5 separate regions of the Homo sapiens genome follow, and regions 2, 3, 4 and 5 are each linked to region 1. The links are contacts of gene promoters, found by promoter capture Hi-C in blood cells and fetal thymus (Javierre and others, 2016). All regions are on one chromosome and are shown on one strand. Each heading gives the region's core, a stretch centred on a gene start or on the middle of the fragment in contact. The rest is flanking DNA. Distances are from core to core; before and after follow the strand shown.

Region 1 (2,700 bases), core at 109-2,608:
AGGACAGACCTGGACCTGACCTCTCCCTGGCGGGCATGGCACCAGGAGTTTATTATGAGACCGAAAGGAAACCCCAAGGCAAACAGCTAAATTCATCCACTTGAAACCTTGTATAGGAGACAGTGAGGGATGTTGTTTTCCATCTAGACAAGGCACAGAGGGGAGTCTGTGACAAGGAGCTTCTAATTGGGGAGCTGCAGAGGGTTAACAAAGAGCACTGGTGGCATCTTTTTGCTGGTCTTCTTGAAAAAGACATAGTCTGGGAAGGTTCAATCAGAGCCCCCTGCACGAGGTAAGGAGGTGGGCTGGCTGACTTCCCTAGGTCCTTCCTAATCCCATAGTTATTTGGTGAATCGTGCTCTTCCCCATTTATGCTCCTACACACGTCTGCACCCAGTTTGATAGTAAGTCCCCTAGGCTGCATTCCAGGTTTAGTACGGTGCCACGCAAGCTGCTGGCACTCAACAAATGACGCAAATATTTGTTGAATGAAGGAATAAATGGATCAAGTGTTTAAATAGAGCCCACATGACCTCCCCAGCTGTAAAGTATGGCAGTTGAATGAAATCACAACATTCTAGGCACTTGAGCAAAGCTGGCGGGGACACACACACACACACGATTCACATTCCCACCTTGGAAAAGCACAGACCACCTGCCCAGCCAGCAGGCTGTGGGAGTTTCCTTGGCAAGGATCCTCTTTCTCTGCTGCTTTAGGATGGTGCCTCTAGAAGGTCAAGTCACCCAGATTTAGGACCGCTTCCCTTCCCGGTTGGCCTCCGAGACAAAGTTTCTGTCTGGATTTGGCCCGGGCCTCCCGGGAGGCGCATCCGCACTGACTCCCGGCTCGGGCGCCCCGGGCGTGCAGCTCGCTGGCCCGCTGCGCCCCACCTTACCTTGGTGAGCTGGGCGATCTTCTTGCACATTTTCACGTGCATCTGGGGATCACAGTCCATTCTCCAGCCGGCGCCACCGTCGGCTTTGGAGCCCTGGCAAGTGCCGGGCGGGTTAATTTTGCTGTTGAGAGCAGAAGCCATCGCTAAAACGCGCCCAGCACTCAGACTCTCTCGTTTTCTCCCTGCCCACCGTGTGCACGTGCGTGCGCGCGCGGGCGTGCGAGCGTGTGGGTTTCTCGGGAGAGGTGGCACTGCAGTCCCGTCGCCTGCACCGCCGCGTGGCCCCAGCTTCCCGAAGGTCTCCGCCTCCCGGGCCCACCCGCGCGCCCACCCTTTTTCCTCTCCTGCTGGTTCTCTGGCTGGCTGGCTCCGCGGGCACCCGCACCCTGCGGCGAGGCGTCGGCGCCCCGCACGTGCCGCTGGCGATCAGTCTGCAGTTCCCCAGCCAGTGCAGGTTTCGTGTGCAAGGGGAGAGCTTCCGCGGCTAGGAGCTGCCGGCCTTGGGGGGTTTGCGGTGGGCGGGCACTGCGCTCTTGGACACGTGGGTGGCGCGCGGCCCTGGACTTGGTGGCGACGGACCCTGCCCGAGGTGGGGATCCCAGGCTAAAGAGGAAGAAGAGCCTCCGGAGAGGGACAGGGCACAGTGACTGGCGGCCTCCGGAGAGGGACAGGGCACAGTGACTGGCGGCTCCCGAGTCTCCGAGCTGATAGCGGAGATGGCGGTGGGGGACGAGATGCTAAGAGAGGGGCGGGTAGGTGAGGGCGAGCCATCGGGACTCAAGGAGGTGTGGGATCCGGGGCGCACGGTGTGGGCCAGCGCCTGAGTTGCGCGAGTGCACAGCGGGGCTGGGGATGGTAGCCTTCCTTTTTGGATCTTGGAGAGGAGCCAGGACATTGCGGGAGGAATACCGGAGATGCCCAAAGAGGAGAAGCCAAGGGGATGGCAGGGTGCGGGTGACCGAAATCTGAGATGAGAAAGTGCGAAACGGGTAATGCGGGAAGCGGTAGGAACGCAAAGACAAAGTCGTTAGGGAGGTAGAAAGGATGGTGGCAGGTGCGGGAAAGGAAGAAGCAAAGAGGAATGGAGCAGTTAGATGAGTAAAAGATGGAACTGAAAATCTTAGCAAACCGAGCCCATTGAAAGTAAAGTGAGTCGTCCAAATCCACACTACTGGCCTTGGGCAGACTGGAGCCAGACTGTCAAGTTTTCGGATTCTGAGCTGGTGTCTGTTTAGTGTTTGGTGAGGGGAGAGGTTAGCGGGCCAAATTTCTTTCTGGCGTGTTCTCTGGTTTCAGACAGTGGACTTTAAGGGAAAGTGACAGCACCGTGATCAGCTTTTCCTAAAGCTCGAATAATAGGTCTTCATGATAGTTTGCATAGTGAATGTATATCATTTATACATTGCCTTTTATCAGAAATTTTAATAATCTTCATAAACCAAGCAAGCTTCAAAGGGTCTCAGAAACCACAGTTCCACCCATCCATACTGAAGGTAACAAAACCCATTTTTGTCGATGAGGAAAATTGACCCAGAAAATTTGTACCAAGTCAGGCAATTACAAGTAGAACTGTTTCTGAAATAGACATTCCTATTCTAGATTCTGTATCAAATGACCGGCCTCGGTTTTTGATTTCTAATTTACCATCTTAAGTTCTCTTTTTAGCACAACCCCTCCCTCCCCCAGTTCCTTTAGAAAACAGAGACAAAGCCTCTGAGGATGGGGGTCAGGGGGTCAGGAATCCACATTAAACAGCTCTCTGCTTAATTCCAAATTGTGTATTTAGAATATTTTCTGCAGGATC
Region 2 (2,700 bases), core at 21-2,520, 790 kb after region 1:
AAAGCCCTTGACAGTGAGAAGGGACCCAAAAGTGGATAGCCATCTATGAGGCTGAGTCTGGGATTTTTATGGGCTTAGAATGGAGAATTTATGGGTAGGCTTGGAAAAGGCATCATTTGATTGGTTAAAAGGCATCATTCAGAAAGAACCAATCAAACGAGAGCGGACAAAACAGGGATGAAAGTTCTCACTGTAGTTCGTGGATTCTATCTGTAACTGGTAGCTCTGTTTTCAAGCTTTAGACTATCCTTGGCCTGAAGGTCAACTTTCACTAGGGATCCATCCCTATCTGCCTAGGAATCTGTCTGTCTGCCGTTGTTATCACTATTACCCCACTTAGTCACTGTTGGAAAAATGTAGTAGATAAACATGCTCTGTGCCTTACTGGCTGCAATCCAATCCTGACTTGGACACTGAAAGTGTGTGTGACCTTTAGTAGTATACTTAACTCCTTCATACCTCAGTTTTGTGTAAAATAAAAATTATACTGGTAGCTCTCAGTAGACAGTGGCAAGGGAGTAACGACATTTTCTATCTTGCTCTTTGCCATAACCTCAGCTCATAGACTACCTGCACAGAGCAGGAACTCAGTAAATATGTATTGAATGAGTAAATAAATATCTGCTAGAATTATCCTAACGACTAAATGAGTTAACAAATATATAAAAGAGTTATGAATATATAAAGTGTTTGGGAAAATTCCTGGTATAATTAGGTCTATTCATGTTATTTTGGCTTTATTTCCATTTTATCATTAGTGTTGTTATTATTATCAAATGCCAATTCCCCCATGAAGCCTTCACTGATTACCTTAGCAGGACATGGTCTCTTTTTCCTCTGGACATGCAAAGGTATTTGACAGCTTCTTTCTTGAGCTGTACTTTTTTCACATTGTTTATCTTCTCCTAAAAATTTTGTGAGAACAGGCATTGCCATTCATCTTTTGGCAATGATGAAAAGTTAGCAGGCTGCTACTCTGCCAACTCAGTTTTCAAGTTTTGCTTAATTGTATTCCTATGCTTTTGTACTAGTATTTTTGTTGTTATCGTTGTTTGCTTTCTTAAGTCAGCCATACAAAATCAGTAGAAAGAAAAATATCAAGTCAGATCTATGGTGTCATGGGGTTTTCAGGGAAGACATTAAACACTGGCCCCAAACATTCTCCCTTCTTCTCAGACACTGCTTTCCTCCTTCAGGTAACCACTTAGTGGTGTCTGATGAAGGAATAGGGGATGGATGGAAAATAGAATATGTTGACTTTCCTTGACTGTAATGACACAGCATGGATGTTGTAGTCTTTCCTGAAAGCAGAGACTGGATAAAGGGAGGATGAAAAAGTGGCTTCTTAAGTAACAGCTTTCTGTAAATAGAGTTTTAGAGCCACATACAGAATTTTCAGATGGTAGAGGATGCAAAAAGACTCAAGACAGGTAAAGTCTCTGTGAGAGTTGTTCACATATGGGAGAGAGCTCATTGCCTTAGGATCAGATTGGGGTAAGGCATTCAGAACGTACTTTTTAGTACATGCCACTTGAAAATGAATATCTTAGTAAGCAATTCCTAGAGGAATGGTTCCACCAAGTGGTAGGTTGTTGTGGTGGAAAATGAAATAAAGCCTGTGTTTTGAAACCAAGCAGACTGCAGTTCTAAACCACGCTCTGCTGAATCACCTTGGAAAGGTTACCTGTACTTTCTAAGACTGCATCATCTTTTGTAGGAAGAAAATTGTGGATGTGGTTGTAGACGTTATTAGTTTGCCATGTTCTTTTGAGCACAGAAGACCAGAATTCTCAGCCCCTTTAGAGTTTGTCCAGGCCATTTTAATGATTTCAGACAAAGGGCTATGAGCAGAAGTGACACAGATCGTTTCCAGCCTAAGGCAGTAAAAAGTCATTGCCAAATTCTTCAATCTCTCTTCCCTATTGGCAGCCTGAAGGAGGGCTTGTTTGGAGACGGCGAAGTCACAAGATGAAAGTATCCTGAGCACTAAATACTGCATGGAGGATAGTTGCCTCTGAAAGTTACCTGATTATAACAAATACAGTTAAACCACATGGTTTAGTGTATGGCATATTGTAGGCACTAAGAGTTAGCTCTCCTCCTTTGGGAGTTTCAGGCACAGAGAGTAATGATAGTGAGATGGTTTGGAGTAAAAGAAACGTAGCATTTGAGTCCCTTTGAGTGCATGTAGGTGTCTAGTTATGCCATCTGTATGAAAAGCCACCCATATCTGGCACTGTTTGTTTTATTCGGCATCATGACTCCTATCTGCCTGAAAGTATGTGATAAAAAATGGTACTCAGTAAAGCTTTGCTGAATAAAAGCGGGATGAGAATCTGAAGTTAATTACAGAGTACTCCAAATAAAATGCTGGTATTAGGTGGGATTAGTTAGTTGAAATCACCAGACTAGCTAATGATAATAATTCCTTATATTTGCATAGTGCTTTAAAGCTAGTGGCTTGATTTCAGAGATGTCATTTACATTCTCTTATTTAATGAGAGATATTACACTGACTATGATCTATCAAAGCCTTTACTCTTCTGAAACAGGACAGGTTGGACTTCACTTTCAAAGTATCATTATTTAACATAGAATTGTGCATTGGCAGGAAATGAGGCAATAGTGAACACAGAGCTTCTCTTCTCAGTTTTATAGTGTGTGCACTGCTTGCTGATGGTAGTCTCTGTGAGTCAACCC
Region 3 (2,700 bases), core at 179-2,678, 580 kb after region 1:
CTTTGAGAATTTCTCAGCCTTTTCTTGTTTTTGATGACTGTGATAGTTTTGAAGGGTGCTGGTTAGGTATTTTGTTGAATGTTCCTCAATTTGAACTTGCCTGATGTTTTTCTCATTGTTAGACCGGGGTTGTGTGTTTTGAGGAAGAATACCACAGTGGTAAAGGGACATTTTTATCATGTCGTATCAAGAGTACTTACTATAAATGTGACTATTTTTGATGTTAACTTTTATCACCTGGTTGAGTATTTTTTGTTAGGTTTCTTCATTGTAAAGTAACTTTTCTTCCTTCTGTTTTTCATATTGTGTTCTTTGAAAATATATCAACACATGGAGCCTACACTGAAGGAATGGGGAACTGTTTTGTTTCCTGAAGGAGAGAGTATCTACATAAATTATTCAGAATTCCACATGGGAGATTTTGTCTTCTCCAAATCTATTTAGTCATTCAAAAATTTATTTGTATTTGTATTGATTCATCAATATTTAATTAATTAATTAATTAATTTTCTTGAGATGGAGTCTCACTCTGTCACCCAGGCTGGAGTGCAATGGCGCGATCTTGGCTCACTGCAACCTCTGTCTCCTGGGTTCAAGCGATTCTTCTGCCTCCGCCTCCTGAGTAGCTGGGATTACAGGTGCGCACCACCATACCCAGCTAATTTTTTTATTTTTAGTAGAGACGGGGTTTCACGCTGTTGGTCAGTCTGGTCTCGAACTCCTGACTTCATGATCTGCCCACCTCGGCCTCCCAAAGCGGTGGGATTACAGGTATGAGCCACTGCGTCTGGCCTATCAATATTTATTTTATACTTTGAGCTATATCTTAGTTTGCTTTGTACTGCTATTATAGAATGCCCAAGACTGGGTAATTTATGATTAACAGAAATTTATTGACTCACAATTCTGGAGGCTGGGAAGTCCAATATCAAGGTGCTAGCATCTGGTGAGGGCCTTCTCACTGTGTCATCACATGGTAGAACAGCAAGAGAGGGCAAGAGAGAGGGGGAAAAAGGGATGCAAACACCCTTTCATAACAACATCAATCCTATCCACGAGGGTGGTGCCCTCATTGGTTAATCGCCTTTTAAAGATCCCATTTTTTAATACTGTTACAATGGCAACAAAATTTCATCATGACTTTTGGAAATGACAAACATTGAAGCCATAGCAGATTTCATCTATTACTTAATTTATTTTGTTATACAAACTTTTCCAGTTTTGGCCATTAGGAACTCTTTCAAGTGACTTTTGTGCCCTTTTGACATATTCTCATAATTAACTAATTAAAATTTGAGCATTTCCTTACTTTCTGGCACTACAGGATGCTCCAGTCTCATTTTCTGTATTTCCTTTCCCAGTCCTAGAATCAGGCATTTCTACAAAAAGAAGTGCTGAAGAATGATACTAACCCCAAGATCTAGGTACTAGGCTTGTTCATTGCTACTGGGGTGTTGTCACTTTAGGCCCTATCAGCTGACAGACTAAGGATATATTCATACATAAGAACCAGTCTATACTCTTATATCTATAAATATTTCTATGTGGAACTATTTGTGTTAAGCTAAACAGAGTTGTTACCGATGTCTCCAGCCCTAAAATGTAAGCACACAGATTACTCTAGACTGTCTCTTGCTAATTTGTAACCTCTAACTCCAACAGTATGAAGTGGCTCCCACTATCTTCCATCCATCTACCTAATTGTTTAATTTCTGTTTACATTTATAATTGTATAAGAATTGTAAGTCAATACCTCTGTGGTAAACAACTTTATTCATTAGACTACAATACCTAGATATAATTTCTTTTGCCTTTGCTCTTACAGACTTCACACATTTCTAAAGTTGTTTAGATTACCACCTTTATTCTTTCATGTCCTTCAGCGAAGTTGTTTTGTACACTTGTAGTACTGTCATAATGTTTTCCTAAATTCCAGATTCCATTCTTGGATTCCAAAATATTTAGTTAAAAATTACAATTATTGATGTTCACTGTGTTTTGAAATTCAATGGATTTTTGACACAAGAGTATAATGTATCCGTCATCACAGTGTCATTCAGAATAGTTCCACTGCCCTAAAAAAGATCCCATCTTTCATGCTTCACCTACACAACCCTTACCTTTCCCATCTTCTCTCTGAAATCTGACCTTTTTACCACCTCTATAGCTTTGCTTTTTCCAGCATGTCATAGAATTGGAATCATACAGTATGTAGTCTTTCCCCATTGGCTTTTTTTTTTACTTAGCATTATACATATAAGGTTCATCCTTGTCTTCTTGTGACTTGAAAGCTCATTTCTTTCTATCACTGAATAATATTCCATTGTATGGGTCTACCATAGTTTGTTTATTTATTCACCTTTAAAAGACATCTTGTGCAAATTTTTGTGCAGACATAGTCTTTCAACTTATTTGGGTAAATATTTAGAAGCATGATTGCTGGATGGATGGTGATATGGTTTGGCTGTGTCCCTACCCAAATCTCATCTTGAACTGTGGCTCCTACGATTCCCACGTGTCATGGGAGGGACCCAGTGGGAGGTAATTGAATCATGGTGGCAGGTCTTTCCTGTGCTGTTCTCATGATAGCGAATAAGTCTCATGAAATCTGATGGTTTTATAAAGGGGAGCTTCCCGGCACAAGTTCTCTTCTCTTGTCTGCCACCATATGAGATTTGCCCTTCACATGATTGTGAGGTC
Region 4 (2,700 bases), core at 14-2,513, 840 kb after region 1:
TTTTGTCATTCCCATGACCTCCTATTCCGCACCATATCTATTCACCCTTCTCTAAATGTTCCACATATTCTGAATACATTGCTATCTTATCATTGGACGTAAATGACTGGTCTACAGTAACTCAGCACATTTCTGAGGTTTCCATGTAAAATAGTTTCTCAGAAATAGTGTTCTTAACAGGTCCAAGTTTCAGATCGCTATAACACTTATTCACACACATATTTATTTTACATTATTTGCATTATCTATATATACATAGATATGTACACAGAGGGAGAGAAAGGAAGGGAGGGATGGAGAGAGAGAGAGAAAGCTTTTAATGTAGGCTTATAATTTAGTTATCTACCTAGGTGTAGATATTAATTTGTAAATCAAGTACATGTACTACTATCATTGGCAAATATACATGCAGGGCAAGGATCATTTTTAATGACCACAGATATCAAAGTATTCTTAATAATGTCATTAATTGGATATCTGACTTTACATTTGATTTTATGAGCTTATTGTTTATTTTACTAATAGTAGGAATAGGAGGAAGAAAATCAACTTTGACTTTTTTCTTATTCGTGTTCACATTTTGCGCTTGCATTTGCAGTATTTTCTTCAATCAATGATGTCTTTGAAGGAAATTTTTTTCAATTTATTTGTTCACTTGGTGAAGATTAGAGTTGCAGACATCATTGTTCTTTTCTGATATCTGGTTCCCCTCTACTTCTAGGTATGTTTGAGGATTTCTGTGTTACTTTGGGGTTAGGTGTTGTTATATGAGTATTTCCAGCTTATGATATTGGGCAAACGTGACATGTTGCCTCTGGGCCAGAGCATTTAAATGTTGGTGTTAAACCTCTTCTCTTTTTTCTGTTGTTGTGAGCAGTGACTTTCCAAAGTGGAAAGCATAACTAGAAGCTGCAATAATTACTTTCTATTATCCAAAAGCTGATCTTTCCAGGGTCTTAGAACCACCATGTAATCTTCACAGAACAGATCTAATAAGTAGTATAGGGTTATGAACATGACTGGATTTCCTATGGAAAACAGTAGAAGCAACCACATTCTGTGATCTGCTTCACGTGGGCCAAATCCCATAGATGAGTGGTCACAATCAGCAAAGTTAAAGATACTTAAATTTACTTATTGATTGGTTTATTTATTCCTACTTTATAGTAAGCTAAATCAAAGAATCAGGACCTCTACAGTGACTCTGCAGTTTAATAAACAAGCTATGCTATTCTACAGTTAGAAAGATCATAAAATCTTTGCACTTTAATAAGTTCATAAACCATAACATTAAAAGGGGCCAGGCACGATGGCTCATGCCTGTAATCTCAGCACTTTGTAAGGCAGAGGCTGGCAGATCACCTGAGGTCAGGAGTTCAAGACGAGCATGGCCAACATGGCAAAGCCCTGTCTCTACTAACAACAAAAATTAGCTGGGCGTGGCGGCACGCTCTTGTAATCCCAGCTACTTGCTGAGGCAGGAGAATCACCTGAAGCCAGGAAGCAGAGCTTGCAGTGAGCCGAAATCATGCCATTGCACTCCAGCCTGGGCAACAAGAACAAAACTCTGTTTCAAAAAAAAAAAAACAAAACAAAACAAACAAACAAAACTAAAAAGATATAAATTATTCCAGGGAATATTCACAAATCAGTGTTAAAACATAGATGTGGCCTCTTCCAATTTTGGAAGAGAAAATTTGTCTTGGGAAGCATATGCCAAATGAAAGGGCTTGTTTCAGTGAATTTAAAGAAACCTTTGAGTTTCAGTTTAAGTGTGTTGACCTTTAGCTTAAGACAATTTATTGTAGGAAATTGATTTTCACAGGTCCCTCAACAGGTCCCAAATGGCAGACTTCAGTGCCTTGATTTTGAGACAAGAATAGCATCATATACTGGTAATGTGGCCAGTGTCTAAGAAGTGATTTAAAAAACTGTGTTAAAAGGCAATTTTCTAACAGAGTCAATGTAACATTTACAGATAAATATTCAAATAGCTTGTTATAATCATCCATCTATCATTTACATACAGTGCATTAAATGAGAATGTATTTTGTCTACTAAATGTTAGGAGCTGGTTTGCAAAGACAAACAGGACATTGTTCTGGAAGGGCTCATAAACTGGTGGAGGAGAACAGAAAATCTATCCATTATAGAAGTCGGAAGAATGAAGTATGGCAACAGAAATAGCTTTGGGAGGTGGAGAGGGATATGGAGAAGCTTTTCTAGAGGGGACGACTGCTGCTCTGGGAATGGTTGGCCAGAAACATCAAAGGGGAGTGCATTCCAAGATGATGTATTAAACATGAAAACACCTGAGAGAACATGGGTCATTCAGACATTTACAGAAGCTTTGCTTCATTTACTACATATTCATTGTATTCATTAATTCAACACATATGTGTGGATACTATATGTCAGGTACTATGTTACAAATTTAGATTATAACTCTGAATGAGAGAGACATAGTCCCTACCCCAAAAGAGTTAACAATCTAGTAGAAGAGATTTATTTTTTGAAAAAAATTCCCCATATTGTGATAAAGAGCTAGAAAGATTAGGTAGACACCACTCTAGTGATATGAAAAGAGGAGAACTTAACCTGGATTAGTGGGGTCTGTGAAAGAAGTGATTTCTAAGCTGATATCTGAGGATGAAGAGCATTTATTAAAGACCAGGAAGTAGAAGAACATTTGAGGTAGAG
Region 5 (2,700 bases), core at 127-2,626, 810 kb after region 1:
GACACACACCTGCGGCTTGCTGGGATATTTCCTGTGATTAGTTGACAACTGAGGAAAGGACCCAGGCCTGGTTCACAATGGACTGGCATGATGTTGGTGCTAGCTGAAAATGCACTATTGTTCTATTATAGCACCATTAAAGGACAATGATGAAATAGAATACTTTGGCTGGGCAGAGTTTTAAACACCTGGTCATGAGCTTGGTGTGGTGGGAGATGTTGCCTGCTAAGATGCAGGCATATGCACACATACACACACCCGTGCACACACTTCTGGGCAGTGGCAAATGGTTTGGGTGGAATAATGAAAGGATCACGAATGGAAAATCAGGGACAAGTTGCTAGTGGAAACAAGTGTGTAGATGAACCTATGACCATGAGCCTAGAGCATGTGGATCATTTATCTTAGGTAAATGCCTGCCAGAGAGCACCTCCTGTGAAGGAGGATTTGAACACCCAGGGGAAAGATGATTTCCCTTCTAATCTCAGCTGGGCTCTGTCCCTGGCCCCCTAAGTGCTCCTTGCTGCAGCCTTAAGGTGATCGGCAGTGCGGTTATGTGATAGTTTTCAAAACCATAAAAACAGTATTTCTTTTTATTGTATTAGTTTCTTTCTGGTCCAACCACTCTTTAACCATATTTAGTCTGTTGGTGTGGTGCTATGATGTCATTTTTAAATTAAAAGAAAACTAACCATACATTTTCTTAGTTAAGATCATACAGAGAGGAAATAAACCGTTAGGATCTGTCAAATTAATTACAATACATCCTTGCTATGGAATCTATGTTAAAAAGAGAGAGAGAGAGAAGAAAAAACGGGCTAGGTGCAGTGGTTCATGCCTGTAATCCCAGCACTTTCGGAAGCCAAGGTGGGTGGATTGCCACAGCTCAGGAGTTTGAGACTAGCCTGGGCAACATTGTGAAGCCCTGTCTCTACTAAAAATACAAAAAATTAGCGGGGTATGGTGGCACACACTTGAAATCCCAGCTGTCTGAGAGTCTGAGGCATGAGAATTTGCTTGAGCTCCTTGAGCCTGGAAGGCAGAGGTTGCAGTGAGCCGAGATCATGCCGCCGCACTGCAGCCTGGGCGATAGAATGAGACTCAGTCAAAAAAAAAAAAAAAAAAAAAAGCCTGCATGATTTTTTGTTTCTTTCTTGAAACTTCTCTACTTAAAAATTTAAAAATACATTTGAATAATAAAAAAATAATTTTTAATGGGAGAGAAATTATTTTGAATGTAAAATGAGTGTGATGGGGAGGAAAATTGTGGGTTTATGCATTAGATTGTTCAGATTCTGTGTATTTACTGTCTTTGGGAGCTGAAGTTAGTTTATTTTTTTTTTTACTTTACTTTCTTCCTGTGTAAAATGAAAATAATGACACCTATTATACACAATTACTTTAAGATTAAATGAGATAGTCCCTTTGGTGCACCTGATATATATAATCAAGATGAAATATTTTGAATGCATAGATTGGCAAGCAGGCTGCACTGTGGATTTATTGCTAGACAAATACAACTTGTGTCAATTTGAAGAAGTCACCAATAAAAATGAAAAATGCCAAACCAAATATTTCTTTGCTCCTTGTTGGAAAGTCACATAAAGAGACAAGATAATAAAACTTAAACTCAGGGACACGTTTTAAGTCCATGATTTGCCTGAAATTGTAGTTGTTAGTTGTGTTTTGCTTTCCTTCTTGTATGAAAGCACCTTTCTCTAAGTCCCTAGTGATATTTGTGCCAAACAAAATAATTGGCTCATTAGGCTGCTGTAGTATTGCCTCTCACTCGGCACCCATATCCTTCTAGTAAGCTGGAAAGAAGAAACAGAGCTCTCTATTCAGAGACCACACAGCTTGCTATCTTTTTTTGCACATCTCGAAGTCAAAGAGGACACAAAAGGATGTTTTTCTGAGCCAATTGGCAGCGCACTCTTATTCTGAACTGCTGGGGCTGGAAGTCTTTCAATGCATGGTAATACTGCCACCATGTGGTCAAACTGAGAAAACCTCGCCCAAATCCTTCAGTCGAAGAGGATTTTCCTTAACATTAATGGGACAGAAGCATTGCGCTTCTTCGACTGGGATTGTTTCACGATAGTCACAAACTATCGTGATTGTTTAGGTAAACGGTTGTCTCACATAAAGGGGCTGAGTGTACTTGATTGGGTGCTAACTGCTAATCCTCCCATTAGCGTGACTGTAACTTTAAATCATTGGTACTTTGAAGTTTCTGTTCTAGGAAATAAGGATGAGAATCTCCATGCTTCCCTATTTCATAAGGTAAGGGAGATACAGTAATATATGCATCGCAACTCTAGATGTAATGGTGTCATAAAATTTCGGGGAGAAAAGTGGGATTTGCTAACCAAAGTGCTGCTATTTGAATGCTGCCACTTTTTAGGGGTATGATCTGAAACAAGTTTTTTCATTTCCTTGGTCCATAGTTTATTGTTCTGAAGAAATGCTGTGAATATTACCTTTTTTTTTTTCTTTTGAGATGGAGTCTCGCTCTGTCGCCAAGCAGGAGTGCAGTGGTGCGATCTCGGCTCCCTGCAACCTCCACCTCCTGGGTTCAAGCCATTCTCCTGCCTCAGCCTCCCGAACAGCTGGGACTACAGGCACACGCCACCACGCCCAGCTAATTTTTGTATTTTTAGTAGAGACGGGGTTTCACCATGTTGGCCAGGATGGTCTCGA

The links. Contacts are between HindIII fragments. The CHiCAGO score rates a contact against its expected background, and 5 or more counts as called.
Region 2: a fragment that was not itself captured here is called in contact with the fragment with the promoter of FAM184B in region 1 in 2 of 17 cell types (endothelial precursors and total B cells); the score reaches 7.1 in endothelial precursors.
Region 3: a fragment that was not itself captured here is called in contact with the fragment with the promoter of FAM184B in region 1 in 1 of 17 cell types (M0 macrophages); the score reaches 5.7 in M0 macrophages.
Region 4: a fragment that was not itself captured here is called in contact with the fragment with the promoter of FAM184B in region 1 in 1 of 17 cell types (naive B cells); the score reaches 5.7 in naive B cells.
Region 5: a fragment that was not itself captured here is called in contact with the fragment with the promoter of FAM184B in region 1 in 8 of 17 cell types (total B cells, endothelial precursors, naive CD8 T cells and 5 more); the score reaches 12.5 in total B cells.

What each region holds. Positions count from the first base shown.
Region 1 is chr4:17,780,263-17,782,962 of GRCh38, forward strand. FAM184B (family with sequence similarity 184 member B) reads right to left here and starts at 1,359. Exons shown (of 18, transcript NM_015688.2): 1 at 897-1,359. The coding sequence starts at 1,037. The HindIII fragment of the contact is 8,098 bases long and covers 1-2,341 here.
Region 2 is chr4:18,567,257-18,569,956 of GRCh38, forward strand. The region is part of intron 1 of LOC105374510 (a long non-coding RNA gene); the gene reads left to right. Among named protein-coding and RNA genes, the nearest start is that of LCORL, 550 kb to the left of the region's middle. The HindIII fragment of the contact is 2,072 bases long and covers 235-2,306 here.
Region 3 is chr4:18,360,905-18,363,604 of GRCh38, forward strand. No RefSeq gene overlaps it. Among named protein-coding and RNA genes, the nearest start is that of LCORL, 340 kb to the left of the region's middle. The HindIII fragment of the contact is 3,222 bases long and covers 1-2,700 here.
Region 4 is chr4:18,615,469-18,618,168 of GRCh38, forward strand. All of the region lies in intron 1 of LOC105374510 (a long non-coding RNA gene), which reads left to right. Among named protein-coding and RNA genes, the nearest start is that of LCORL, 600 kb to the left of the region's middle. The HindIII fragment of the contact is 1,904 bases long and covers 312-2,215 here.
Region 5 is chr4:18,591,748-18,594,447 of GRCh38, forward strand. All of the region lies in intron 1 of LOC105374510 (a long non-coding RNA gene), which reads left to right. Among named protein-coding and RNA genes, the nearest start is that of LCORL, 570 kb to the left of the region's middle. The HindIII fragment of the contact is 4,680 bases long and covers 1-2,700 here.